Regions from separate parts of the Homo sapiens genome. Here all the other regions are linked to region 4. The links are contacts of gene promoters, found by promoter capture Hi-C in human tissues and cell types (Jung and others, 2019). All regions are on one chromosome and are shown on one strand. The core of a region is centred on a gene start or on the middle of the fragment in contact, and the rest is flanking DNA. Distances in the headings are between cores, read along the strand shown.

The links. The method cuts DNA at HindIII sites, captures the fragments that hold promoters and counts their contacts. A contact is called where the count stands out against the background at its distance.
Region 1: a contact is called between a fragment that was not itself captured here and the fragment with the promoter of LIN7B in region 4, in 2 of the 25 tissues and cell types used here (liver and thymus).
Region 2: a contact is called between the fragment with the promoter of SLC6A16 here and the fragment with the promoter of LIN7B in region 4, in 2 of the 25 tissues and cell types used here (adrenal gland and mesenchymal stem cells).
Region 3: the fragment with the promoter of BAX here is called in contact with the fragment with the promoter of LIN7B in region 4 in 4 of the 25 tissues and cell types used here (aorta, heart left ventricle, neural progenitor cells and 1 more).

Annotation. Positions count from the first base shown.
Region 1 is chr19:49,262,258-49,268,931 of GRCh38, reverse strand. All of the region lies in intron 2 of LOC107985340 (a long non-coding RNA gene), which reads right to left. Among named protein-coding and RNA genes, the nearest start is that of MIR4324, 43 kb to the left of the region's middle. The HindIII fragment of the contact is 4,018 bases long and covers 578-4,595 here.
Region 2 is chr19:49,320,825-49,326,985 of GRCh38, reverse strand. It overlaps SLC6A16 (solute carrier family 6 member 16), which reads left to right and starts at 1,795. Exons shown (of 12, transcript NM_014037.3): 1 at 1,795-1,938. RefSeq lists an enhancer at 482-631. The HindIII fragment of the contact is 19,669 bases long and covers 1-3,140 here.
Region 3 is chr19:48,951,885-48,958,461 of GRCh38, reverse strand. It overlaps BAX (BCL2 associated X, apoptosis regulator), which reads right to left and starts at 3,587. Exons shown (of 6, transcript NM_138761.4): 1 at 3,500-3,587; 2 at 2,863-2,914; 3 at 2,629-2,775; 4 at 2,129-2,264. The coding sequence starts at 3,533. RefSeq lists enhancers at 3,113-3,322, 2,772-3,339, 3,340-3,908 and a silencer at 3,443-3,592. The HindIII fragment of the contact is 13,021 bases long and covers 1-6,577 here.
Region 4 is chr19:49,109,851-49,116,408 of GRCh38, reverse strand. LIN7B (lin-7 cell polarity scaffold B) reads right to left here and starts at 2,039. Exons shown (of 6, transcript NM_022165.3): 1 at 1,968-2,039; 2 at 1,442-1,560; 3 at 1,078-1,149; 4 at 1-146. The coding sequence starts at 2,004. RefSeq lists a silencer at 1,640-2,219. The HindIII fragment of the contact is 18,984 bases long and covers 1-6,094 here.

The DNA.
Region 1 (6,674 bases), core at 1,337-3,836, 150 kb before region 4:
AAAAAAAAAAAAAAATGACAAAGGAGACATCACAATTGGTATCACAGAACTACAAAGGATCATTAGAGACTATTATGAACAACTATATGGAAAACTTAGAAGAAATGGATAAATTCCTGGACACATATAACCAGCCAATATTATGAAGAATTAGAAAACCTGAACAGACCAATAATGAGCAACAAGCTTGAATTAATAAAAAGTTTTCCATTGAAAAAAAGCTCTGGATCTAATGAATTCAGTTACAAATTCTACCAAACATTTAAAGAACTGTAGCTGGGCATGGTGACACGTGCCTGTACTCCCAGCTACTTGGGAGGCTGAGGTGGAAACATCAGTTGAGTCCAGGAGTTCAAGTCCAGCCTGGGCAACATAGACCCTATTTCTTTCCTTCTTTTTTTTTTTTTTTTTGAGACAGAGTCTCACTCTGTCACCCAGGCTGGAGTGCAGTGGCGTGATCTCAGCTTATTGCAACCTCCACCTGGTTGAAGTGATTCTCCTGCCTCAGTCTCCTGAGTGGCTGGGACTACAGGTGCACTCCACCATGCCCAGCTAACTTTTTGTATTTTAGTAGCGACAGGGTTTCACCATGTTGCCCAGGCTAGTCTCAAACTCCTGAGCTCAGGTAATCCTCCTGCCTCGGCTTCCCAAAAAGGTGGGATTACAGGTGTGAGCCACTGGGCCTGGCCGATGCTATTTCTTTAAAATAGCACATCAAGAAGGTCATTTGCCATGATTAAGTGGGATTCATCCCAGGGATGCAAGGATGGTTCAACATATGCAAATCAATAAACATGATACATCACATTAATAGAAGGACAAAAACCATATGATCTCAAATTCAACATGCCTTCATGATGAAAACCCTTAACAAATTAGATATAGCAGGAACATAGTTGGTTACAATAAAGGCCATATATAACAAACCCACAGCTAGCATCATACTCAATGGGGAAAAAGTTGAAAGCTTTGCCTCTAAAATACAGAAAAACACAAGGTTGTACCACTTCTATTCCACATAGTACTGGGAGTCCTAGCCAGAGCAATTAGGCCAGGGAAAGAAAGAAAGGGCATCCAGGGGTGGGGGCGCATGCCTGTAATCCCAGCTACTCGGGAAGCTGAGGCAAGAGAATCACTTGAACCCAGAAGGCAGAGGTTGTGGTGAGCCAAGATCATGTAATTGCACTCCAGCCTGGGCAACAAGAGCGAAACTCCATCTCAAGAGAAAAAAAAGCATCCAACTGAAAAGAAGGAAGTCAAATTGTCCTTGTTTGCAGAAGACATGATCTTATATATAGAAAACCCTACAGCCTCTCCAAAAACCTGTTAGATTAAACAAGTTCAGTGAAGTTGTAGGACACAAAATTAACATACAAAAATCACTAGTGTTTCTATATACCAACACCAAACTATCTGAAAAAGAAATCAAGAAAACAATCCTGTTTTCAATAATAACAAAAATAAAATACATAGGAACAAATTTAACCAAGGAGGTAAAAGATCTCTACAATGAAAACTATAAAAAATTGGTGGAAGAAATTGAAGAGATTACTAATAAATGGAAAGACATCCAATGCTCATGGATTGGGAGAATTAATATTGCTAAAGTGTCCATACTACTCAAAGTAATGTACAGATTCAATGCAATTCCTGCAAAAATACCAATGACATTTTTCACAAAAAAATCCTAAAATTTGTATGGTGTAGGGACTAGCCCCACAGGGTCAGTGGGTTTTTCTCCGTGTGTGTGGAGATGAGAGATTGTAGAAATAAAGACACAAAACAAAGAGATAAAAGACAGCTGGGCCCGGGGGACCACTATCACCAAGAGGCAGAGACTGGTAGTGGCCCCAAATATCTGGCTGTGCTGTTATTTATTGGATACAAGACAAAGGGGCAGGGTAAAGAGTGTGAGTCATCTCCAATGATAGGTAAGGTCCCCTGGGTCATGTGTCCACTGGACAGGGGGCCCTTCCCTGCCTGGCAGCCGAGGCAGAGAAAGGAGAGAGAGACAGCTTATGCCATTATTTCTGCATATCAGGGACTTTTAGTACTTTCACTGATTTTGCTACTGCTATCTAAATGGCAGAGCCAGGTGTACAGGATGGAACATGAAAGCGGACTAGGAGCGTGACCACTGAAGCACAGCATCACAGGGAGATGGTTAGGCCTCTGGATAACTGCGGGTGAGCCTGACTGATGTCAGGCCCTCCACAAGAGGTGGAGGAGTAGAGTCTTCTCTAAACTCCCCCGGGGAAAGGCAGACTCCCTTTCCCAGTCTGCTAAGTAGTGGGTGTTTTTCCTTGGCACTGACGCTACCGCTAGACCACAGTCTGCTTGGCAACGGTTGTCTTCCCAGACGCTGGCGTTACCGCTAGACCAAGGAGCCCTCTAGTGGCCCTGTCTGGGCATAACAGAAGGCTCGCACTCTTGTCTTCTGGTCACTTCTCACTATGTCCGCTCACCTCCTGTCTCTGTATGGCCTGGTTTTTCCTAGGTTATGATTGTAGAGCGAGGATTATTATAATATTGGGATAAAGAGTAATTGCTACAAACTAATGATTAATGATATTCATATGTAATCATGTCTATGATCTAGATCTAGTATAACTCTTGTTGTTTTTACATATTTTACTATAGTGGAACAGCTCATGCCCTCGGTCTCTTGCCTTGGCTCCTAGGTGGCTTGCCGCCCAGAGTATGGAATAACAAAAGACCCTGAATAGCCAGAGCATTTTTTTTTTTTTTGAGATGGAGTCTCACTCTGTTGCCCAGGAGGCTGGAGTGCAGTGGCATGATTTCAGCTCACTGCAACCTCCGCCTCCGGGGTTCAAGTGATTCTCCTGCCTCAGCTCCTGAGTAGCTGGGACTAAAGGCGTATGCCATCATGCCCAGCTAATTTTTTGTATTTTTAGTGGAGATGGGGTTTCACCATATTGGCCAGGCTGGTCTCCAACTCCTGACCTCAGGTGATCCACCTGCCTCAGCCTCCCAAAGTGCTGAGCCACTGAACCCGGCTGATGTTGAGCATTTATTTATATACTTGTTGGCCATTTGTATGTCTTCTTTGGAGAAATATCTACTCAGGTCCTTTGTCCACTTTTTAATTAGGTCGTTTGGTTTGTTTGCTATTAAGTTGTATGAGTTCCATTCATATTTCGGATGTACATTGCAAATATTTTCTGATTCCATAGATTGCCTTTTTTTTTTTTTTTTTTTTTTTTGAAATGGAGTCTCACTCTGTCACCCAGGCTGGAGTGCAGTGGCGCAATCTCCGCTCACTGCAAGCTCCGCCTCCCGGGTTCATGCCATCCTCCTGCTTCAGCCTCCCGAGTAGCTGGGACTACAGGCACCCGCCACCACACCCAGCTAATTTTTTGTATTTTTAGTAGAGACGGGGTTTCACCATGTTAGCCAGGATGGTCTCGATCTTCTGACCTCGTGATCTACCTGTCTCGGCCTCCCAAAGTGCTGGGATTACAGGCGTGAGCCACCGCGCCTAGCCTCTTTTTTTTTTTTTCCTGCTGTGCAGCTTTGGCAGATGCTAGGGCTTATGGGGAATGGGGAGATGTTGGTTAAAGGGTACAAACTTTGAGTTATAAGATTATTAAGTTCTGGGGATCTAATATATACATGGTGGCTACAGTTAATAATACTGTATTATTTACCTGAATTTGATAAGAGAACAGATTTTTTTTTTTTTATTTGAGACAGTCTCGCTCCATCGTGCAGGCTAGGGTACACTGGTGCAATCTCAGCTCACTACAACCTCTGCCTCCTGGGTTCAAGTGATTCTCCTGCCTCAGCCTCCCGAGTAGCTGGGATTACAGGCACCCACCACCACACCTGGCTAATTTTTGTATTTTTAGTAGTTTTGCCACGTTGGCCAGGCTAGTCTTGAACTCTTGACCTCAGGTGATCTGCCCACCTCGGCCTCCCAAAGTGCTGGGATTACAGGCGTGAGCCACCACGCCCGGCCAGAGAACAGATTTTAAGTGTCCTCATCACATACATACGCACGCGCACACACACGATAATTATGGTGGTTATGGATGTGTTAATTTGATTGTGGTAATCATTATACAGTGTATACATAAATCATATTATGCCTTGAATATATACAGTTTTTGTCAATTAAATATTTTTAAATTTAAAAAGAATATACTTTATTAACCATTAAAATTATTAATTAAATCTGAAAAGCTTTTGAGCTTCGTGTTTTGGGGGCATCAGTAACTGGATCTTTTTTATTGTGTATTACATTGTATGAATATGCCACTATTTGGAGGCTATTGTGAATAAAGTGGCAACAAATATTCTCGTACATATTTTTATGCACATAGACGTGACTTTATGGGTCATAGAACAGGTGTTTTTGTCTTTAGGGAGTCTGCCAAACACCCGTCCAAAATGGTGAAATCACTTTCCGCTCCCGCCAGCGATGGAAGGGCGCTGCGGTCACTGCACATTCTGGACAGTATCTGATGAGCTCAGTGTTTTCAGTTTTGGTCGTGCTGGTAGCTGTGCGGTAGTACCTGATTGTGGCTTTAATTTGCATTTTCATCATGAGTAATGATATCTAGCACTTTTATATGGCTATTGGTCATCTGAATAGCTGCTTTTGTGAAGTCCCTGTTCAAGTCTTTCACCTTTTCTTAGGCTTTTTTTTTTTATTGTTTTGTAGGCATTATTTATATTCTGAATACAAGTCATTTGTCACATGTGTGCATTACAAATGTGTTCCGTCTGTGGCTTACCTATTTACTTTCTTAAAGATGTCATTGAATTTTTAAAAACGTCTTAATTTTAATGAGGTTGAGTTCTAATTTTCTTAGTGCTTTCTTTGTGTATATTTAAGAAAATGTGCTACCCAAAGTCAAAGTGATATTTTCATATTTTTTTGGAATCTCTTTTGTTTTACCCTCCACATTTATATCTATGATTCATCTTGAATTAATGTTCGTGTGTCATGTGAGGTGGGCTCAAGCTTATTTTCTACATAGATATCATTATTCTGGCACTACTTATTGAAAAGACCATCCATCGCCACCCAATCACAGTGGCAATTCTATTATAAATTAAGTGACCACATAGGCTGGAGTATATTTATGGACTCTCTTTTCCATTGATCTATTTATTATCCTTTGCCAACACCACACTCCCACCCCTCTCTCCAGCCCCTCCCCCATCTCCCCCGCCCCTCCCCTCCTGTTTTAATTATGTAGCCTTAGAGTAAATCTTAAGATAATAAGATAAGTCCACGGTAAGTTAAGTCTTCCAACTTTGGTCTTCTTCAAGATAGCCTTAGCCATTCTAAGGTCTTTGGCTTTCCATATAATTTTAGAACGAGCTTGTCTGTTTCCAAAAAACCAACAATATGGGATTTTGTGTTTAAGATTGCCCTGAATCTGTAGATCAATTTGGGGATAATTGACATTGTAAAAATGTTCAACTTGCCAACTCATGAACATGGTAAAATTCTCTAAGTGTTTTGCATTGTTTTGTAGTTTTCAGCGAGGTCTTACACATTTTAACTACATTGATTACTAAGTATTAAATTTCTTTGATGTTTTAAAATAGTATTTTCCAATTATTTGTTGCTACTATACAAAAATATAATTTTTTGTACAATCGCCTTATATATAGGAACTTTGCTAAATTCGATTACAAACTTAATTTCATCCATTTGTAGATTCTTTTTACATATACAATATCTGGGTTTTTTTTTTCCTGAGACAGGGTCTTACTCTTTTGTCCAAGCTGGAATGCAGTGGCATATCAGCTCACTGCAGCCTCAAACTCCTGGGCTGAAGAGATCCTCTCTCCTCAGCCTCCTGTGTAGCTAGGACTACAGGCGTGTACCACCACATCTGGCCAATTTTTTATTTCAATTTTTGTAGAAATGGAGTTTTGCTATGTTGCCCAGGCTGGTCTTGAGCTCCTGGCCTCAACTGATCCTCCTGCCTCACAGTACTAGGATTATAAGCATGAGCCACTGTGCCCAGCTACATACATGATCTCTTGACAGTATACTTACATCACCTTTAAATAAGGAAAGTTTTATTTACTTTGATCTTTATACTTTTTTTTCTTGCCTTATTGCACAGGCTAGGACCTTTAATACAATGTGGAATGAACATCCTTACCTTGTCCCCAAACTCAAGAGAAAAGCATTCATATTTCATTGTTCAGTGTGATGTTAGTTATAGGCTTAAGGAAGCTGTAGATTAAGGAAGTTGCCTTCTATTTCTAGTTTTCCCACCATTTTTTTTTTCAATTGTTCTCCAATATTTTTCTTCTACATATTATGAACCCCACAATACATTGCTGCTATTGTTACTTTAAGCACTCATTAGTCTCAAATTTGCCTACACGGTCTTGCTCTGTTGCCCAAACTGGAGTGCAATGGCATGATCAGCTCACTGCAGCCTCAAAACTTCTGGGGCTCAAGTGATCCTCTCTCCTCAGCCTCCTGAGTAGCTAGGACTACTTTGACCTAGGTAGTAGCTGGGACACCCTTTCAGGTTTTCTTTATTCCTTTCTAAATTTTATGTTATTATTTTTTAACTGACAGATGAAATTGTATGTATTTGTGTTCAACATGATGTTTTGAAATATATATACATTGTGGAATGCTAAATGTAGCTAATTTACATATCTAATATTTTTGTGGT
Region 2 (6,161 bases), core at 546-3,045, 210 kb before region 4:
GTGTAGTAGTGTGATCTTGGCTTACTGCAACTTCTGCCTCATGGTTTTAAGTGATTCTTGTGCCTCAGCCACCCGAGTAGCTGGGATTACAGGCGTGCACCACCACACCTGGCTCGTTTTTGTATTTTTAGTAGAGATGGGGTTTCACCATGTTGGCCAGGCTGGTCTTGAACTCCTGGCCTCATGTGATCCGCCCACCTTGGCCTCCCAAAGTGCTGGGATTACAGGCGTGAGCCACCATGCCCGGCCTGTCATAGCACTTAATACAATTTATAATCATGTAATTATTTGAGATTCATCATATATCTGTTTTCTTGTTGTGTGAAGCAAAACGAGGGCAGGAATGGGGTCTGTTTTGTTCTCTACACTATTCCCAGTTCCTAGCATTTAGTAGACTCTCGATAAATACGTGTTGAAAGATTGAATGATTCCCAAAGATTGTGATGAATTCTTACAGCACCCCCAAAATTTCCTCTTCATCTCTTTGTTCAATCATAACAATTTAAGCCTTTCATTCTCAAAGTGTGGCTCAGGGACTCCTGGGGGCTCTTGAAACACTTTTGGGGGTCCATGAGGTGAACATTATTTTCATAATACTACTAAGATATTATTTGCCTTTCACTTTCATTTCCTCTTTGAATATAGTGATGTTTGCCAGAAGCTACAAGACATGAGCTATTTTGACACACTCAGTGCAGAAGCAGATATGAGAATCCAGCTGTCTTCTATGAAGCCAGACATTAGAGAGATTTGCAAAAATGTAAAATGATGCCATTCTTCTCCCCAAATTTTTTCTTTTTTTTCCTTTTTTTTTTTGAGACGGAGTCTTGCTCTGTTGTCTAGGCTGGAGTGCAGTGGCAAAATCTCGGCTCATTGCAACCTCTGCCTCCTGGGTTCCAACGATTCTCCTGCCTCAGGCTCCCGAGTAGCTGGGATTACAGGTGTGTGCCACCACGCCCGGCTAATTTTTTTTTTTTTTGACTTTTAGTAGAGACGGGGTTTCATCATGTTGGCCAAGCTAGTCTCGAACTCCTGACCTCGTGATCCACCCGCCTTGGCCTCCCAAAGTGCTGGGATTACAGGCGTCAGCCACCGCGCCCAGCGCCAAAATTTCTTTTGGAGTAGAAATTATAGTTATTTTAAATAAAAATGTTATTTTGACACATAATGAATTTTTAAACAATGACTATTTTAGAAATTTATTTTAATATTGATAGATACAACTCACATAAACATACAACCCATATAAATGTAACTCATAAATTATTGGAGTCCTTAATAATTCTTAAGAGACCGGAAAGTATGAGAACGGATGACCTAAGTAAATCTTTGAGTTTTTAATTCTTGTCTGCAGCCCTAGTAGGCTTCTGAGCTCTCTTAAGGCAACGTCCCTGTCTGCCTTGTTGGACGCATATTTAAGGTTTGGTTTCTAGTAGGCGATCTTTAAGTAAATGCGAAAGGTTTGAAGGCTAGAAGGAATGAATGAGACGATTCTCCCACTTCCTACCCTCTTCTTCCTTACATGAAGTGGAAGCAAAGTGCATGTGCCAGAGAAAGGCCTTGTCTTAGAGCCCCGCCTGAAGCGTGGCATCGTGGGTGTCGGGGTGGGGTGCGGTGGGGAAGGGAGTGGCGCGTGAGCAGTCAGAGGATGTGCACACGTGCGTGCGTGTGGGGAGAGAGCAGGGAGTTGGGGAGGGCGAAGTGGTTACAGTGTTTGCTACAGCTGTAGGGAAAGAGTGAGGGGGCGCGGCGGCGCATGCGCAGAGAATCGGCGGGAAAGGCCGCGCGCCAGGCAGATCGAGGGGTGTCGCCCAAACCGATCTGTCGACGCCTGAAGGGGCCTGAGGAGATTGCTAGGCTTCTCAGCTGGGGCTTCTTCACCCTCATTTTTGTCCGACTGGCTGGACTGAAGAACCTGGCAGAAGCCTTGGGGCTAGGGTGAGGGTCACGGCCCAGGGAGCCCTAAAATGTTCCCACATCTGGGGTGTGTGGGGCTGGGCGCCATTTTCGAGGCCCGGGCCCACTGGGCTCCACTGACGGGTGACAGGTGACTGGCTGGGAGCCTCCTGGTTGCCCTGGGCTCTGTGGAGCTGAGGGATCAAAGGGGTCCCTCCTTTACCCCCCACGTAGGACAGAGGAAACTGTCTTCGGCTCTCCTCACTCATCCAGTCCGAGTTTGAGCCAATTCCTTGACAGGATTCGGCCATCAGTCCCTGCCTTTGGGGAAAGCCATCAGTGTCAAGTGCCCGAGTGGCAGAAACCCGGGTCTAGCCCCATCACTGGTCTGTTAGGGCAGTTATTTTCTGCTTTTTGCAGAAATGGGACACCAGCTCCTTATTTTCCTTTTCTGGAGGTTATAGTTCCAGGGAAGGAGGTAATGTGAGGGGAATGGGCATTTCTGGGGGATCCTGAGCACTCCCCACAGGGCATGAGCCTAGGAGTTGCTTGGGATGACGGTGTAGGGGCACCATGGAGGGTTGCACCCATATGGGAAGAGGAGTCCGCCTGGGGCTCAAGGGGCTTTATGGATGTTGGAAGTGGCCAGCTGGCCAAAACTCAGTTCTCTCCCTTCCGTAAAGCTTGCTTTTAAGGACAACTGTTCTAGAATGTGTTTAAGAAACATGAATCTATTATTTTTTATTTATTTATTTATTTGAGATGGAGTCCCACTCTGTCACCCAGGCTGGAGTGCAGTGGCACGATCTCAGCTCACTGCAACCTCTGCTTCCCAGGTTCAAGCGATTCTCCTGCCTCAGCCTCCCAAGTAGCTGGGACTATAGGCGTGCGCCACCACCCCCAGCTAATTTTTTGTATTTTTAGTAGAAACGGGGTTTCACTGTGTTGGCCTGGCTGGTCTCGAGCTCCTGACCTCAGCCGATCCACCCGCCTCAGCTTCCTAAAGTGCTGAGATTACAGGTGTGAACCCCCGTGCCCAGCCTATTATTATTATTTTTAAGAGACAGGGTCTCTCTCTGTCTCCCAGGCTGGAGTCCAGTGGCATGATCACCTCTCACTACAGCCTCGAACTTCTGGGCTCAAGCAATCCTTCCACCTCAGCCTTTCAAAGAGCTGGGATTACAGGCTGAGCCACTGGAGGCTTGGTTTTCACTTATTTTGGGTGTATACCCAGAAGTGGAATTGCTGGATCATATGGTAATTCTATTTTTAAGTTTTTGAGGAACCACCATAGTGTTTTCCATGGTGGTTGCACCATTTTACATTCTGACCAGCAAGGCACAAGGATTCCAATTTCTCCACATCCTCACCAACACTTCTTATTTTCTGCCTTTTTATATTAGCCATCCTAATGGATGCGAGGTATTATCTCATTGTAGTTTTCATTTGCATTTCCTTAATGATTAGTGACGTTGAACATCTTTTCATGTACTTCTTGGAGATTGGTATATCTTCCTTGGAGAAATGTCTATTTAAGTCTTTTGCCCATTTTTGAATTGTGTTGTTTGTTTCTTTGTTGTTGAGTTTTACGAGTTCTCTATATATTCTGAATATTAATCTCTTATTATACATATGATTTTCAGATATTTCCTCCCATTCTGTGGGTTATCTTTTCACCCCTTTGATAGTGTCTCTTGATGCACAAATTTAAAACATTTTAATGAAATCCTGTTTGTTTCTTCTTTTGTTGCTTTTGCCTTTGGTATCATATCCAAGAATTCATTGCAGATCCACTATCATGAAGCTTTTGTCGTATGTTTTATTCTAAGAATTTTATAATTTTAAGTGTTACATTTAGGTCTTTGATTTATTTTGTGTATTTGTATGTGGTGTTAGGTAAGAGTCCATCTTTACTCTTTTGCCTGTACATAATCCAGTTTTCCCAGCACCATTTGTTGAAAAGACTGTCCTTTACTCATTGAGTAGTCTTGGCACCCTTGTAAAAAATCATTTTTCCATACATTGTTTCTGGGCCCTCTATTCTGTTCCCTTGGTCTGTATCTTTATGTGAGTAACACACTATTTTGATTACTATAGCTTTGTAATATGTTTTGAAATCAGGAAATGTGAGTACACCAGCGTTTTTCTTCTTTTTCAAGATTATTTTGGCTGTTCAGGGTCCCTTGAGATTTCATGTTAGTTTTAGGACGTGTTTTTCTATTTCTGCAAAAAAAAAAAAAAAAAAAAAAAAAAAAAAAAAAAAAAAAAAAAAGCTACTAATTCTGTAGATTGCTTTGGGTAATACTGACATCTTAACAGTGTTGTCTTCCAACCCATGAACATGGGATATTTTTCCATTTATTTATGTCTCCTTTAATTTTTTTCAGCAATGTTTTGTAGTTTTCTTTGTACATGTCTTTCACCTTCTTGGTTAATTCTTTTTTTTTTTTTTTTTGAGATGGAGTTTCACTCTTGTTGCCCAGGTTGGAGTGCAATGGTGCAATCTCGGCTCACTGCAACCTCTGCCTCCCAGGTTCAAGTGATTCTCCTGCCTCAGCCTCCTGAGTAGCTGGGATTACAGGCATGTGCCACCATGCCTGGGTAACTTGGTAATGGAAACGGGTTTTCTCCATGTTCGTCAGGCTGGTCTCGAACTCCTGACCTCAGGTGATCTGCCCACTTTGGCCTCCCAAAGTGCTGGGATTACAGGCTTGAGCCACCGTGCCCAGCCAAGTTAATTCTTAAGTATTTTATTCTTTCTGATGCTATTACAAATGGAATTGTTTTCATAATTTTCTTTTCAGATTGTTCATTGTTAGTGTATAAAAATGCAACTGAGTTTTGATTGTTGACTTTGTATCCTGCTACTTTGCTGAATTCATTTATTAGCTCAAAAATTTTTTTGGTGAAAATTTTAGGATTTTCTACGTATAAGATCATATAATCTTTCTAGTTTGGTTTCCTTTTATTTATTTATATTTTTGCCTAATTTCTCTGGCTAGGACTTCCAGTACTATGTTGAATAAAAGTGGCAAAATTAGACATTCTACGCTTGTTTCTAATCTTAGAGGAAAAGCTTACAGTCTTTTATCATTAAGTATGACATTTGCTGTGAGTTTTTCGTATATGGCTATTATGTTGGGATATTTTCCTTTTTTTTTTTTTGCTGAGACATGGTGTCACTTTGTGACCCAGGCTGGAGTGTAGTGGTGTCATCATGGCTCACTGTAGCGTTGACCTCCTGGGCTGAAGTGATTCTCCCATCTCAGCCTCATGAGTAGCTAGGACTACAGAAGTACATCAACACACCCAGGTAATTAAAAATTTTGTTTGTTTGTTTGTTTGTTTGTTTTTGAGATGGAGTCTTGCTCTGTCACCCAGGCTGGAGTGCAGTGGTATGATCTTGGCTCACTGCAACCTCTGCCTCCCAGGTTCAAGCGATTCTCCAGCCTTAGCCTCCCAAGTAGCTGGGACTACAGGTGCACACCACCACATCTGACTAATTTTTGTATTTTTAGTAGAGATCAGGTTTCACCATGTTAGCCAGGCTGGTCTTGAACTCCTGACCTCAGGTGATCCACCCGCCTTGGCCTCCCAAAGTGCTGGGATTACAGATGTGAGCCACTGCACCTGGCCCCAGGCTGGTCTTGAACTCCTGGGTTCAAGTGGTCATCAGGCCTCCCAAAGTGTTGGGATTACAGGCATGAGTCACCATGCCCAGCCGTATTTTCCTTTAACTCCTAGATTGTTGAGTTTTTTTTTTTTTTTTTATCATGAAAGGGTATTGAGTTTTGTCAAATGTTTTTTCTGCATCAGTTGAGAGAATCATTATTTTTCTTTCATTTTGTTAATGTGGTATATTATATTGATTGATTTTTGTATGCAGAACCATCCTTGCATTCCAGGAATAAATCCCACTTGGTCATGGTATATAATCCTTTTAATATGCTGCTGAATTAGGTTTGGTAGTATTTTTTTTGAGGATTTTTGCATCAAAGTTCATAATGAATATAGGTCTGTAGTGTTCTTTTCTTATAATGTCTTTGTATGGCTCTGGTATTAGGGCAATGTTGGCCTTATAGGATGAATGAGGAAGTGTTCCCTCCTCTCCAATTTTTTGGAAAAGTTTGAGAAGGATTGATATTAATTCATTAAAGGTTTAGTAGAATTCACCCATGAAGCCATCAGGTCCAGAGCTTTTCTTTGTTGAGAGATTTTTGATTACCAATTCAATCTCCTTACTAGTTATAGATCTATTCAGATTT
Region 3 (6,577 bases), core at 2,338-4,837, 160 kb after region 4:
AATTGCTTGAACCCAGGAGGTGGAGACTGCAGTGAGCCAAGGTCATGCCACTGCATTCCAGCCTTGGTAACAGAGCGAGACCCTGTATCAAAAAAAAAAAAAAAAAAAAAAAAAAATCTTCCAAAAAGAAATATCCCTCCCTGTTGGAGACCAGCCTGGACAACATAGCGAGACCCCGTCTCTATAGAAAAAGACTAATGCAACAGTTAGTGGGGCGTGGTGGCATGCTCCTGTAGTCTCAGCTACTCTGGAGACTGAGGCGAGAGAACTGCTTGACCCCAGCGGTTTGAGGCTGCAGTGAGCTATGATCACTACTGCACTCCAGCCTGGCCAACAGAGCAAGACCCTACCTCTTAAAAAAAAAAATGCCCCCCCCGCACCTCTGCTGCTACCACCAGGGCTTGTCATCTTTCAGCAAGACTATGACAGGTGCCACCTCTCCAGGATCCTCGCTTCTGCCCTTGTGCCTCATGATCTCTTTTGGCCAACAACAGCCAGGAGCATTTCACCACCACCCCCACCACATTTTCTTATGAGAATCTTCATAATGAAAAGTTAAAAGAATTTCACAGTTAAAAGCCATATAGCCGCCACCTATAATTAGATTCTACAATTAACATTTTGCTATACAGACAGTCCCCAACTTATGACGGTTTGACTTACAATTTTGACCTTACTATGGGTTTATCGGGGCATTGAATGCATTTTCAACTTATGTTATTTTCAATTTATGATGGGATTACTAGGATGTAACACCATTGCAAGTCAAGGGGCATCTATACTTGCTAGAATAATCTCTTAAAGTTATAAATCAGGTCTTGTCGCTTCCGTATTTAAAACCAGCCAATCACTCCCATCACACTCAGAGTAAAGTTAAAGTCTTTCCAGGCTGGGTGCAGTGGTTCACGCCTGTAATCCCAGCACTTTGGGAGGCCAAGGTGGGCGGATCACTTGAGGCCAGGAGTTTGAGACCAGCCTGGCCAACATGGCGAAACTCCGTCTCTACTAAAAATACAAAAACTAGCCAGGCATGGTGGTGTGTGCCTGTAATTCTAGCTACTTGGGAGGCTAAAGCATGAGAGTCACTTGAACCCGGGAGGCAGAGGTTGCAGTGAGCCGAGATGGCGCCATTGCACTCCAGCCTGGGCAACAAAGTGAGACTCTGTCTCAAAAAAAAAAAAAAAAAAAAAAAAAAAGAAAAGAAAAAGTCTTTCCAGCAGCCCGAAAAACTCCACACAATCTGCCCCTGCCCAACTGTGCCTTCCTTTCCCACCCTCTCCCCAGTTCACTCTGTTCCAACAGCACTGGCCTCCTCCCTACTGTCAAAAGATGAGGCTTGGTCCTACCTCAGGGCCTTTGCACTTGCTGTTCCCTCTACCAGATGCCTCTTCCCCCCGATCACTATAGATCACTGCATGCTTCTTATCATTCTAGCTTTGGCTTTAATGTCACCTGCTCTTTGATGTCACCTGCCCTTAGAAGTCTTTCCTGGCTTGTTGCGGTGGCTCATGCCTGTAATCCCAGCACTTTGGGAGGCCAAGGCAGGTGGATCACTTGAGGTCAGGAGTTCAAGACCAGCCTGACCAACATGGTGAAACCCGTCTCTACTAAAAATACAAAAAAAAAAAAAAAAAAAAAAAAAGCCAGGGATAATGGTGCACACCCATAATCCCAGCTACTCAGGAAGCTGAGGCAGGAGAATCGCTTGAACCTGGGAGGCAGAGGTTGCAGTGAACCAAGATCATGCCATTGCACTCAAGCCTGGGCAACAAGAGCAAAACTCCATCTCAAAAAAAAAAAAAAAAAAAATAGAAATCTTTCCTGACCACTCTGCTAAATCACACTGCCCACTTTACTTCACCCCTGCACGTGAACTCCCTGAGAGCAGGGATGTAGCCTGCTTTGTACAGTGCTGTGTCCCAGGTGCCAGGTATAGGCCTGGCACATAGCAGGTCCAGTAAATGCTTGTTGAATGAATAAAAGAAGGAGCAGACACCCAGTGCACAGCCATCTCTCTCCATGCCCTCTGTGGTCACTGGGCCACTGCAGGGGGTTGATACCACGATCCCCAGGTCCTCACAGATCTGAGGGGGAGCATCCCTGGGCTCACTGCCCTGCAGCTGCCCACCTTGAGCACCAGTTTGCTGGCAAAGTAGAAAAGGGCGACAACCCGGCCCCAGTTGAAGTTGCCGTCAGAAAACATGTCAGCTGCCACTCGGAAAAAGACCTCTCGGGGGGAGTCTGTGTCCACGGCGGCAATCATCCTGCAGGAGAGAGGAGAACCAGTGCCGGGGAGCAGGCATCAGGCTGATGGTGGAAAATTCCCGCATCCACCGCACACTAAAGATAAGGAGACTGAGCCCCAAGCCAGGCTGAAATGAAAAGCAACAGGCCAACGGGGGACAAGGGAAGGGGACAAGACAGACATTTAGGAAGGTGGGAAAAATGACTCCCTGAAGGAGGGTTTTAAGATCCTGGCAGAGAGGAGGGCTGGGAGTCCGGAATGTTTGCGCTGAGTTGTGGGGCCCAGACTCCTAGTTCTTAGGGGAGGAGGAGAATGCGGGGCTGAGAGTCCTGTGTCCTGAAGGAGCCCAGTGGCTGGACTTCTGGGTCCTCAGGGGCCCACACCTCTGCAGCTCCATGTTACTGTCCAGTTCGTCCCCGATGCGCTTGAGACACTCGCTCAGCTTCTTGGTGGACGCATCCTGAGGCACCGGGTCCAGGGCCAGCTCGGGTGCCTCCCCCCCCATTCGCCCTGCTCGATCCTGGATGAAACTAGAGTGGGGATGGAGTGAGGGTGCAGAATCAGAACGGGGTGTCACTCCTCAAATCTGTGCCACAATAATCAGACCTCAAACTCACCCCTGAAGCAAAAGGGCCCCTGTCTTCATGATCTGCTCAGAGCTGGTGGGCCCTAGAGGAGAAAGGAAGGGAAGAGGTACCTGGACTCTTGGGTTCTAGGGGATCAGGAGACTGTGGAGACTCACGGCCCCTGAGGGAGGACAGAGCTGGGGACCCTGGACTTCTGGGACCCTAGCAGATAAAGTGACGGGGGGGCCCAGACAACTGAGTCCCTGATGGAGAAAGGCCAGGAGGCTGGGCCTGTATCCTACATTCTCCCCGGGGAAAGAGGCTAGGGGAACGCTATATGCATCCAGACCCCTGGCCTGAGGGGGCAGAGGCGAGACCCGCCCCTCCCACCAGTGCCAGAGGCAGGAAGTGGTGCGGGCGACAAGCCCGGGCCTGCCCGGGGGCTTGGCTTCCGAGATCCCCTGGTTCTCGAGGGTCCGAGAGCGCCAGAGAGGCAGGGATCGGGACACGGGGATCAGAGAGCCAGGAACCTCCGAGGACGGAGGGGACTGGAGGCTGGCAGCGCCCGATCCGGGAGTTTCTGCCCCTCAGTGCTTGGAGATCGCACAGCCCCAGGCCGGTAGGAAGGATCCCGGACGGGCCGGCGAGGGGGCTCGCCCTCCTCCCGCCCGTCTGCCTCCCGCCTCACCCCCGCCTCTGGGCTGCTCCCCGGACCCGTCCATCACCGCCGCTCCCGCCGCCGCCTCTCGCCGGGTCCGCGCGGGCGGCCGCAGCGCGCCCGGGTCACGTGAGAGCCCCGCTGAACGTGCGTCCTTCACGTGGCCGCCCCGCAAAATGGCCGCTGCCCCGCAGCGCCGCCGGGTCACGTGACCGCACCTGCCTCGCTCCCTCGGGAGGTTTGGTCCCGTCACGTGACTGTCCAATGAGCATCTCCCGATAAGTGCCAGCAGTGGCGCCGTCCAACAGCCGTCCGTCCAATCGCAGCTCTAATGCCTTCATTTATCCAGGCACCATTTTTAGAAGTTTCGGGCAGGGTTTGAGCTCTCCCCAGCGCAGAAGGAATTAGCAAGTGCAAAAGCTCAGAGGCCCAAAATAGCATGCTTCCAGGCAGGACGTTATAGATGACTAAAAACTGAGTGGTTTTGTTTTTTGCAGAGACCTGGATCTAGCAATATAGCCCACGCCCAGGCTTGTCTCTAACTTGTGAGCCCAAGAGATAACCCCGTCTCAGCCTTCCAAAGCGCTGGGATTACAGGCATGAGCTACCGCGCCAGGCCTGCTTTTCTGTTTGTTTGTTTTTTCCTGTTTTTTTTTTTTTTTTTTTTGAGACAGGGTCTCACTGTGTTGCCCAGGCTGGAGTGCAGTGGCCCAATCATGGCTCACTGCAGTCTGGAATTCCCGGGCTGAAGCCTCCCACCTCAGCCTCCTGAGTAGCTGGGACTACACCGCCCCTGGTTAATTTTTAAAACTTTTTATGTGGAGATGAGGTCTCTCTATGTTGCCCAGGCTGGTCTCTGAACTCCCAGACTCAAGCGATCCTCGCACCTTGGCCTCCCAAAGTGCTGAGATTACAGGCTTGAGCCACCCCACCCAGTCATGACTCGAATGTTTGTGTTTGTGTAAAAAGAAAAGGAATATGAAGTTTAAAAAGTGGCAGAAACTAATCTGTGCTGATAGATCAGCAGGGTATGGAGGGGAGGGGCCACAAGAGACACTCCCCGGGTGCCCCAAATATGCCATATTTTTATCTGAATGGTGTTTACATGGGTATACACATTATTATTATTATTATTATTATTATTATTATTATTATTTTGAGACGGAGTTTTGCTCTTGTTGCCCAGGATGGAGTGCAATGGCACGATCTCGGCTTACTGCAACCTCTGCCTCCGGGTTCAAGCAATTCTCCTGCCTCAGCCTCCCAAGTAGCTGGAATTGCAGGCATGCGACACCACGCCCAGCTAATTTTGTATTTTTAGTAAAGATGGGGTTTCACTATGTTGGTCAGGCTGGTCTCAAGCTCCTGACCTCAAGTGATCCACCTGCCTCGGCCTCCCAAAGTGCTGGGATTACAGGCGTGAGCCACTGTGCCCGGCCGGGTATACACATATTTACAATTCATTGAGCTGTACACATAAGACTTGTGTGCTTTATGAATATTATGACATGTCACTTTAGACAGAAAATAATAGCAACTAAGGAAAACTCAGAAAAATGAGCTAGGATCAGATGATAAAGGGTTTGGGCCTGTCAGAGAAGGGACTTGATCTATGTCCAGAAGGCCGCTGGGAAGCATGGGGAAATTTTGAGCAGGCAAAGGGCAGAGTCAGACTAGGGTGTCAGGAAGATCTCTTGGACTTCCTTCTTTCTCGAAAAAGCTCCTGGTTGGGCTCAGTGGCTCACTTCTGTAATCCCAGCACTTTGGGAGGCCGAGATGGGTAGATCACCTGAGGTCAGGAGTTTGAGACCAGCCTGGCCAACACGGTGAAACCCTATCCCTACTAAAAATTCTAAATTAGCCAGGTGTGGTGGCAGGCACCTGTAGTCCCAGCTACTCGGGAGCTGAGGCAGGGGAATCGTTTGAATCTGGAGGCAGAGGTTGCAGTGAGCTGAGATCGTGACCTTGCACTCCAGCCTCAGTAACAAGAGGGAAACTCCAACTCAAAAAAAAAAAAAAAAAAAAAAAAAGCTCGCATAGCACCCAGGATGTGTAATGCTTCTCACAGCTGTAAATGTGTGCAGTGTTTTAATTTCATGTTGGTTTTTTTCATCCACCCAAAATTTCCACAAGGTTAATTTGTCCTCAATTCTCCCAGAAACCAGCATGTTACTTGATTCATAGTTATCTCTCAAAATGTGTTATTCAATAACTGTATGATTGAATGTTGGGGAGCATGCAGAAATCAGACATTGTCTGCCTCTGACATTCAGAGAAGACTTCTCAGAGGAGGTATTTCCTCTTGACCTTGAAGGATCAGTTTGTTTTGAAAATTGAAGAAAGGGGCCAGGTGTGATGGCTCATTCCTATAGTCCCAGCACTTTGGGAGGCCAAGGCAGGAGGATCACCTGAAGCCAGGAGTTCAGGACCAGCCTGGGCTGTACCATGGTGAGACCCTGTGTCAACTAAAAAACAAAAGAAAGGAGGGGGGGCCGGGCGTGGTAGCTCACACCTGTAATACCAGCTGTGTGGGAGGCCGAAGTGGGTGTATCATCTGAGGTCAGGAGTTTGTGACCAGCCTAGCCAACATGGCGAAACCCCGTCTCCACTAAAAATACAAAAAAATTAGCTGGGAGTGGTGGCGCGTGCCTGCAGTCCCAGCTGCTTGGGAGGCTGAGGCAGGAGAATCGCTTGAACCCAAGAGGCAGAGGTTGCAGTGAGCCAAGATCGTGCCACTGCACCCCAGCCTGGGCAACAGAGCAAGCCTCTATCTAAAAAAAAACAAAAAGAAAAGGAAGCAGAAAAAAAAGAAAATTAGCTGGATGTGGTGGTGCGTGCCTGTAGTCCCAGCTACTTGGGAGGCTGAGGTGGGAAGATTGTTTGAGCTTGGGAGGTCCCGGCTGCCGTGAGCTGTGATCAATTGCATCACTGCAATCAGACTGGGTGACAGAGGAAGAGCCTGTCTCAAAAAGAAAAAAGAAAAGAAAAAGCCAAGATAAAGGGGGAGGGTAGAGCTTAGGTGACAACCAAATGATAGCTTAGAGCAAAGCAAGGTCAACATTGGATCAGGACTGTGAAGTGAAACCAGTGTCCTGAATCGCTGGAAAC
Region 4 (6,558 bases), core at 790-3,289:
CCTGGGATGACCCGGGAGATGTAGATGGGCGAGTTTTGCTCTTTGCCACCCATGATGTTGAAGCCTAGGCCCTCATCCGTCTTGGGTAGCTCCACTACCCTGGGATGTGCGTGGCCCTCGCTGGCTGTGAAGGCAGCCACTGTGGCCTGGGAGAGAGAAAGCGACTGAAGATGAGGGCCCCTTCCAGGTAGGCATGAAAGCTGGGGTGGGGGATGTGGACCGAGGACAGCGATTTAGCCTGGGTTACTATCCCCAAGCATGGGACACTTGTCATGGCACAATGCACGATCCCCCTGTAATGACTGTGCGTCTCTTTCTGTTCACTTGCAAGAGAAAGTGTCCATTTGGTGTGTGTCTTGAATACCCCATACTTGCCAATCTTACTTTTTTTTTTTTTTTGAGATGAAGTCTCACTCTGTTGCCCAGGCTGGAGTGCAATGGCATGATCTCGGCTCACTGCAACCTCGGCCTCCTGGGTTCAAGCGATTCTCCTGTCTCAGCCTCCGGAGTTGTAATCCAGCTGGGATTACAGGCACTCGCCACCACGCTCGGCTTTTTCTTTCTTTTTTTTTTTTTTTGTATTTCTGTGGAGACGGGGTTTCACCATGTTGGCCAGGCTGGTCTCGAACTCCTGACCTCAACTGATCCACCTGCCTCGGCCTCCCAAAGTGTTGGGATTACAGGCGTGAGCCACCGTGCCTGGCCTCAATCTTACTTTTAAACAGAGGAAAGCCAGGCCTGGAGGGAGATCTGAGCCTCCGGACAGCAGCAAGAGGTAGCAGCATCTAACTATTGTGCAGTGAGAGGTCAGAGCGCCATGAGTTTCCTGGTTTGCACTGTACAGATGTTGAAGGTTATCTTCTACCAACCATGCCATACTGTTTCCATTTGCAGTTGCTAAAGATGCCTTAGTATGACATTTAAGTTAAAAATGTGCGATTATTTACTAATAGTAAGGTGGCACATAGATTTAGCAAAAATCATGAGGGAGGAAACAGAAATGACTGGCATGAAGGAGATATTGAGTTCGACTAGGCAGTTAAATAGACACCAGGAGCAATGGGGTGCGGGGCCCACCTTGGCTGTGGCATGGGCTCGGATCTCGGCGCTGCCGGTGATGTCCAGCGTGTCATAAAGCTGCTCATACACCTGGGTGAGGAGGCAGCGGCATCAGGGAGTCGCCAGCTCCTCCAGCCCTAGACGCAGGAGTTCAGGCCTCTAGACCCTCTCCCGCTACCACGCAAGGATCCGCCCCGCCCCCGCAACAGAAGGCCGAGAAAACTACAACTCCCGAAGAACCCCTGAGCTGAAGCGTTGGCACCCCAAGGCGGGCCGCCTCGGGAGCTGCCGGGAGGCGTAGTCTCCGGGCTCGGGACAAGCAGGAGGAGGAGGAGGAGGACGACGGCCACCAGCTCGCGCCCCTGCGCCGCGCGCCCCTCACCTCTCGGATAGCGGAGCAGAAGCGGCTCTGCAGAACTCGCTGGAGGGCCTGCAGCTTCTGCGGCGGCAGCTCCCCGCTGCGCTGGAGCCGCTCGAGGAGCTCAACCGCCCGGGACACGTCTGCGGGGCGGGGGCGGGGCGCAGAAACCCCGAGTGTCAGAGACCCCGAGACGCAGAGAAGCAAGGAGAGCGGCGGAGTGAGGCCGAGCGCACAGTCCGGGGAGGACGGCCGAAGCCTAGTCGGACACCCCGCAGAGTCCAGGGTGGCGCAGGAGAGACTGCCACCAGCGGCCCTGCGGCCCCGGGACCCCTCCACAGGCCGGGTTGTAAGGCGGGCGCCCAGCGTCCCGGCCCGCGCCCAGGGAGCCTCCCACACCTAGCGACCGCCCGGCCCCGGCGCCCGCCCCGCCCACCCCCTCCGGGTCCGCTGGCCCACCCGCACTGGCCTGACCCGGGAAGGGCGGGGACCGGGGGCTGGGTATGTAGGCCGCGGCCCGGGTGGGCAGGGCCCCCTGGCGCACGCTTACCCCGCTCCAGCCCCAGCGGCTCCACCAGCGCAGCCATGTCGGCGCCACAGCTGCCAGCCGCCCGCCTGCCCTGGCGCCGGCGAGGAGGGCGGGGCTGCGCGAGGCCACGCCCCGGGCCACGGGCGCCCCCTGCGGAGGCGCAGCCTGGAGAGCGCCCAGCTCTCCCTCGCCCGACTGCTCCGACCACCTGCCGCGCGCCAGCCGCGCCCTGCCCTCCGCCCCGGCCAGTCGGTCCTGTTGGCGACCCCTCCCACTGCAGGTTCGGTCTGTGTGTACCTTTCAGGATCCGTGTCTGCCTGCCCTCCACACCCGTCTATCCCCTGTCCATCCTTTCCCCACATTCATTCAACAAACTCTTGTGAAACATCTGAGCCCAAGTCATGGACACCGTGGTGAGCAGGACAGCCAAGCCCACGGCCCGAACGAAGCTTCCAGTCTATAGGGGAGGTAGACGACCAACTACGGCTGTGATGAGAGCTGAGAGTGGGGAGGTGATGATCTAGAAAACGAAGGAAATCCTAGAGGAGGGACATTGACATACAGTCCTGGGAGGTAAGATGAACAAGAGGTGGAGCTTGGGTCACCCCCACCACCCAGAAAGAGCCCACGTGGCTGGAAGCAGAGTTAGGATTGGTTGATGATGAGGTGAAAAGGTCGGCAGGATAGTTTATGCCTGGGCTCCTGCGTTGGCATATGCGCCTTGAGGATTTGGGGCTTCATGCAAACTCCTAAGAGAAAAATATGACACTCAAATTTGTATTATTATTATATTATTATTATTATTATTTTTGAGACGGAGCCTCGCTCTGTCGCCCAGGTTGGGCCTCAAATTTGTATTTTAAGATCACTGGGGCCGGGCACGGTGGCTCACACCTGTAATCCTAGCGCTTTGGGAGGCTGCAGCAAGACTACTTGAGCCCAGGAGTTCAAGACCAGCATAGGCAATATAGTGAGACCTCGTATCTATTGAAAAAAAAAAAATCACTGTAGCCACTGTGGAGACTGGTTTGGACAAGAACAAGAGGAGAAGCAGCGGGGCAACTTACGAGGCTACCACAGCCATCCAGGTGGCAGCTAGCACCAGGGCCAAAGCACAGAAGATGGGTGGGCAGATGTGGGAAATGTCTAGACAAGCCTTGGTGCTTGGCTATATAAGGGGATTGGGAGGTGCAGGAGAAGACAGTATTAAGGTGCTTTGGTGCCATTTTTAAGATGGTCTACACTGAAAGAGGGATACTGGATATTTTGTTTTTGAGACACAGTCTTCCCTCTGTTGCCCAGTCTCGAGTGCAGTGGCGTGATCTCGGCTCATTGCAACCTCTGCCTCCCGGGTGCAAGCAATTCTCCTGCCTCAGCCTCCTGAGTAGCTGAGAGTACAGGTGTGCACCTCCACACCTGCCAAATTTTTGTATTTTTCATAGAGATGGGGTTTCACCATGATGGCCAGGCTGGTCTCGAACTCCTGACCTCAAGTGATCCACCTGCCTCAGCCTCCCAAAGTGCTGGGATTACAGGCGCGAGCCACCTTGCCTGGCCGATACTGGATATTTTGAATTTGAGGAGCCTATGCAGAATCCATGGGGAGAAACTATCGATCTAGGTCTAGGGCTCAAAAGAGCAACCTGGTCTGCAGGCATGTTTGAATATTGGGGCATAGGTGGTAAATAAAACCACCGGAGTGGATAAGAATGTCAGGGGCAAGCGAATATTAAGACGGCCTAGAACTGGTCCCCAGACCTCTCTAACACTTAAAAGTCAGGAGGACAGCAGAGAATGGCCTGAAATGTAGGCAGAAACCCAGGTGGGAGAAACCATGAGAAGAGGGGTTTTTAAATTTTATCTTCTTTTTTTGTTTGTTTTAGATGGAGGGGTCTTTGTTGCTCAGGCTGGTCTTGAACTCCTGGGCTCAAACAATCCCCCTGCCTTGGCCTCCCAAAGTGCTGAGTTTACAGGCACGAACCGCTGTGTCTGGCTGCGAGTGTTTTTAAAAAGAAGTGTGGCTGGGCATGGTGGCTCACGCCTGGAATCCCAGCACTTTGGGGGGCCGAGGCGGGTGGATCGCCTGAGGTCAGGAGACCAGCCTGACCACATGGAGAAACCCTGTCTGTACTAAAAATACAAAAGTAGCCAGGCATGGTGGTGCATGCCTGTAATCCCAACTACTGGGGAGGCTGAGGCAGGAGAACTGCTTGAACCCAAGAGGCGGAGGTTGCGGTGAGCGGAGATCATGCCATTGCATTCCAGCTTTGGGAAAAACAGCGAAACTCCGTCTCAAACAAACAAACAAACAAAAAAAGTGAGGCCAGGTGTGGTGGTCACGCCTGTAAGCATTTTGGGAGGCTGAGGCGGGCGGATCACCTGAGGTCAGGAGTTTGAGACCAGCCTGGCCAACTTCATGAAACCCCATCTCTCCTAAAAATACAAAAAATTAGCTGGGCGTGGTGGCGGGTGCCTGTAATCCCAGCTATTTGGGAGGCTGAGGCAGGAGAATAGCTTGAACCCAGGAGGTGGAGGTTGTAGTGAGCCGAGATCGTGCCATTACACTCCAGCCTGGGAAATAAGAGCGAAACTCCATCTTGGAAAATTAAATAAATAAATAAAAAATAAAAAAAGGAAGTGGTCAGTGGTATCATGCTCTAGAGAGGCCGAGGAGATGTGGACAAGACTTTGGAGAAAGTTGGCTGCTCTTCTGGTTCTGCTGGGTGGCGATATGGAGTCCAGAAAAGTGCTTGTTCCAAGTGGGAGGACTAGAGCAGGTTTGTCTGGCTGTCTCCTTCACTGTAGCTCTCTCTTTAGCAAAAAGTAATGTCTTTATGGGATTAAAAACAAAATCAAATAACACAGACAGGCTAATAATAGTGAAAAGCACCAGCCTCTACCTCTCCTAACTCTACTCACTGTGAGAGGGAACTTACAGATGTTTAGTCTGAGAGCTGCTTCTGTGTCTAAGTAACATGCTATTTCTCTCTCTATATATACATATATATGTGTGTGTGTGTGTGTGTGTGTGTGTGTGTTTTGTTGTTGTTGTCGTTACAGGGTCTCACTTTGTTGCCCAGGCTGAAGAGCAGTTGTGCAATCATGGCTCACTGCAGCCTTTACCTCCCTGGGCTCAGGTAATCCTTCCACCTCAGCCTCCTATCTGGGACCATAGGCGCACGCCACCACGTTTGGCTAATTTTTGTATTTTTTGTAGAGACCAGGCTTTTGCGATGTTGCCCAGGCTGGTCTCCATCTCCTGGGCTCAAGTGATCCTCCCACCTTGGCTTCCCAAAGTGTTGAGTTTACAGAGCCACCATGCCTGGCCACCACCTACTTAATTCTTAATTTCACTTGTGTTTTCTAGTTCTAGAATTGCCATTTAACTTTTTGTTAGATTCCAGATTTTTTTTTTTTTTTTGAGGCAGGGTCTTCCTGTCACCCAGGCTGGAGTGCAGTGGTGTGATCATAGCTCACTGAATCTCAAACTCCTTGGCTTAAAGAATCCTCCTACCTCTGCCTCTCAAGTAGCTAGATTCCAGATATCTCAACATTCTCCATCTTTTCCTTATTTTGTGAATATATCATAGTTATGATAACTCCAACATCTGAATCACCCCTGCCTGGGTCTCTTTCTATTGTCTATTTTGTTTCCCTCTTGGTTTTCAGCAAATTAAGTCCTTTCTAGCAAGGCTGGTAACTATTGAGTAGATGCTGAGTAATGGGTACTAAAAATAGTACATGTGGAGACTCGGAACGTTATCTTCTTCCAGAGTTTTCTTCTGACTAGCAGACTGCCTAAATCCTGAAAAAGTCTGGTTTTAGGCTTTCTTAGCCTGATTGATTATTTATTTATTCTTTTTGAGATGGAGTCTCACTCTGTTGCCCGGGCTGGAGTGCAATGGCACCATCTCGGCTCACTGCAACCTCCACCTCCCAGGTTCAAGCAATTCTGCCTCAGCCTCCCGAGTACCTGGGATTACAGGTGCTCACTACCATGCCTGGCTAATGCTTTGTATTTTTTAGTAGAGATTGGGTTTTGCCATGTTGGCCAGGATGGTCTCAAACTCCTGACCTCAGGTGGTCTGCCCACCTCAGCCTCCCAAAGAGCTGGGATTACAGGCATGAGCCACCGCACCTGGCCTCAGGGTAATTTTTGTATTTTTGGTAGAGACAGGGTTTTGCCATGTTGGCCAGGCTAGTCTTGAACTCCTGACCTCAAGTAATCCACCCACCTCTGCTTCCCGAAGTGCTGGGATTACAAGCATGAGCCACCATGCCCAGCCTCTTAGTCTGATTTCTTCTGTTATGGCGTTACTCTGACATTGAGGCACCCTGGCCATCTCAAGCAGAGCCAATCCATGGTGGGCCTTGAACCCCAACCTGTCTCCCCTAGAACAGCATGGCTGCTGCAGTCTCCAGGCCACCAGTTCCTTAGCCTCCCAGTTACTGCATTCTGATGAGTTTCTTGGGGGGGGGGGTCTTGCAGATAGTGAGCAGCTTGAGTTGGCAGATGCCTCTAAGGGAGGGTGCACGTAGATTTGGGAGGTCAGTGCCCTCCTCTCCTGTTTCGTCAAGTCCCAGCTGCCTGGCTGAACCTCTGTGAACTTGG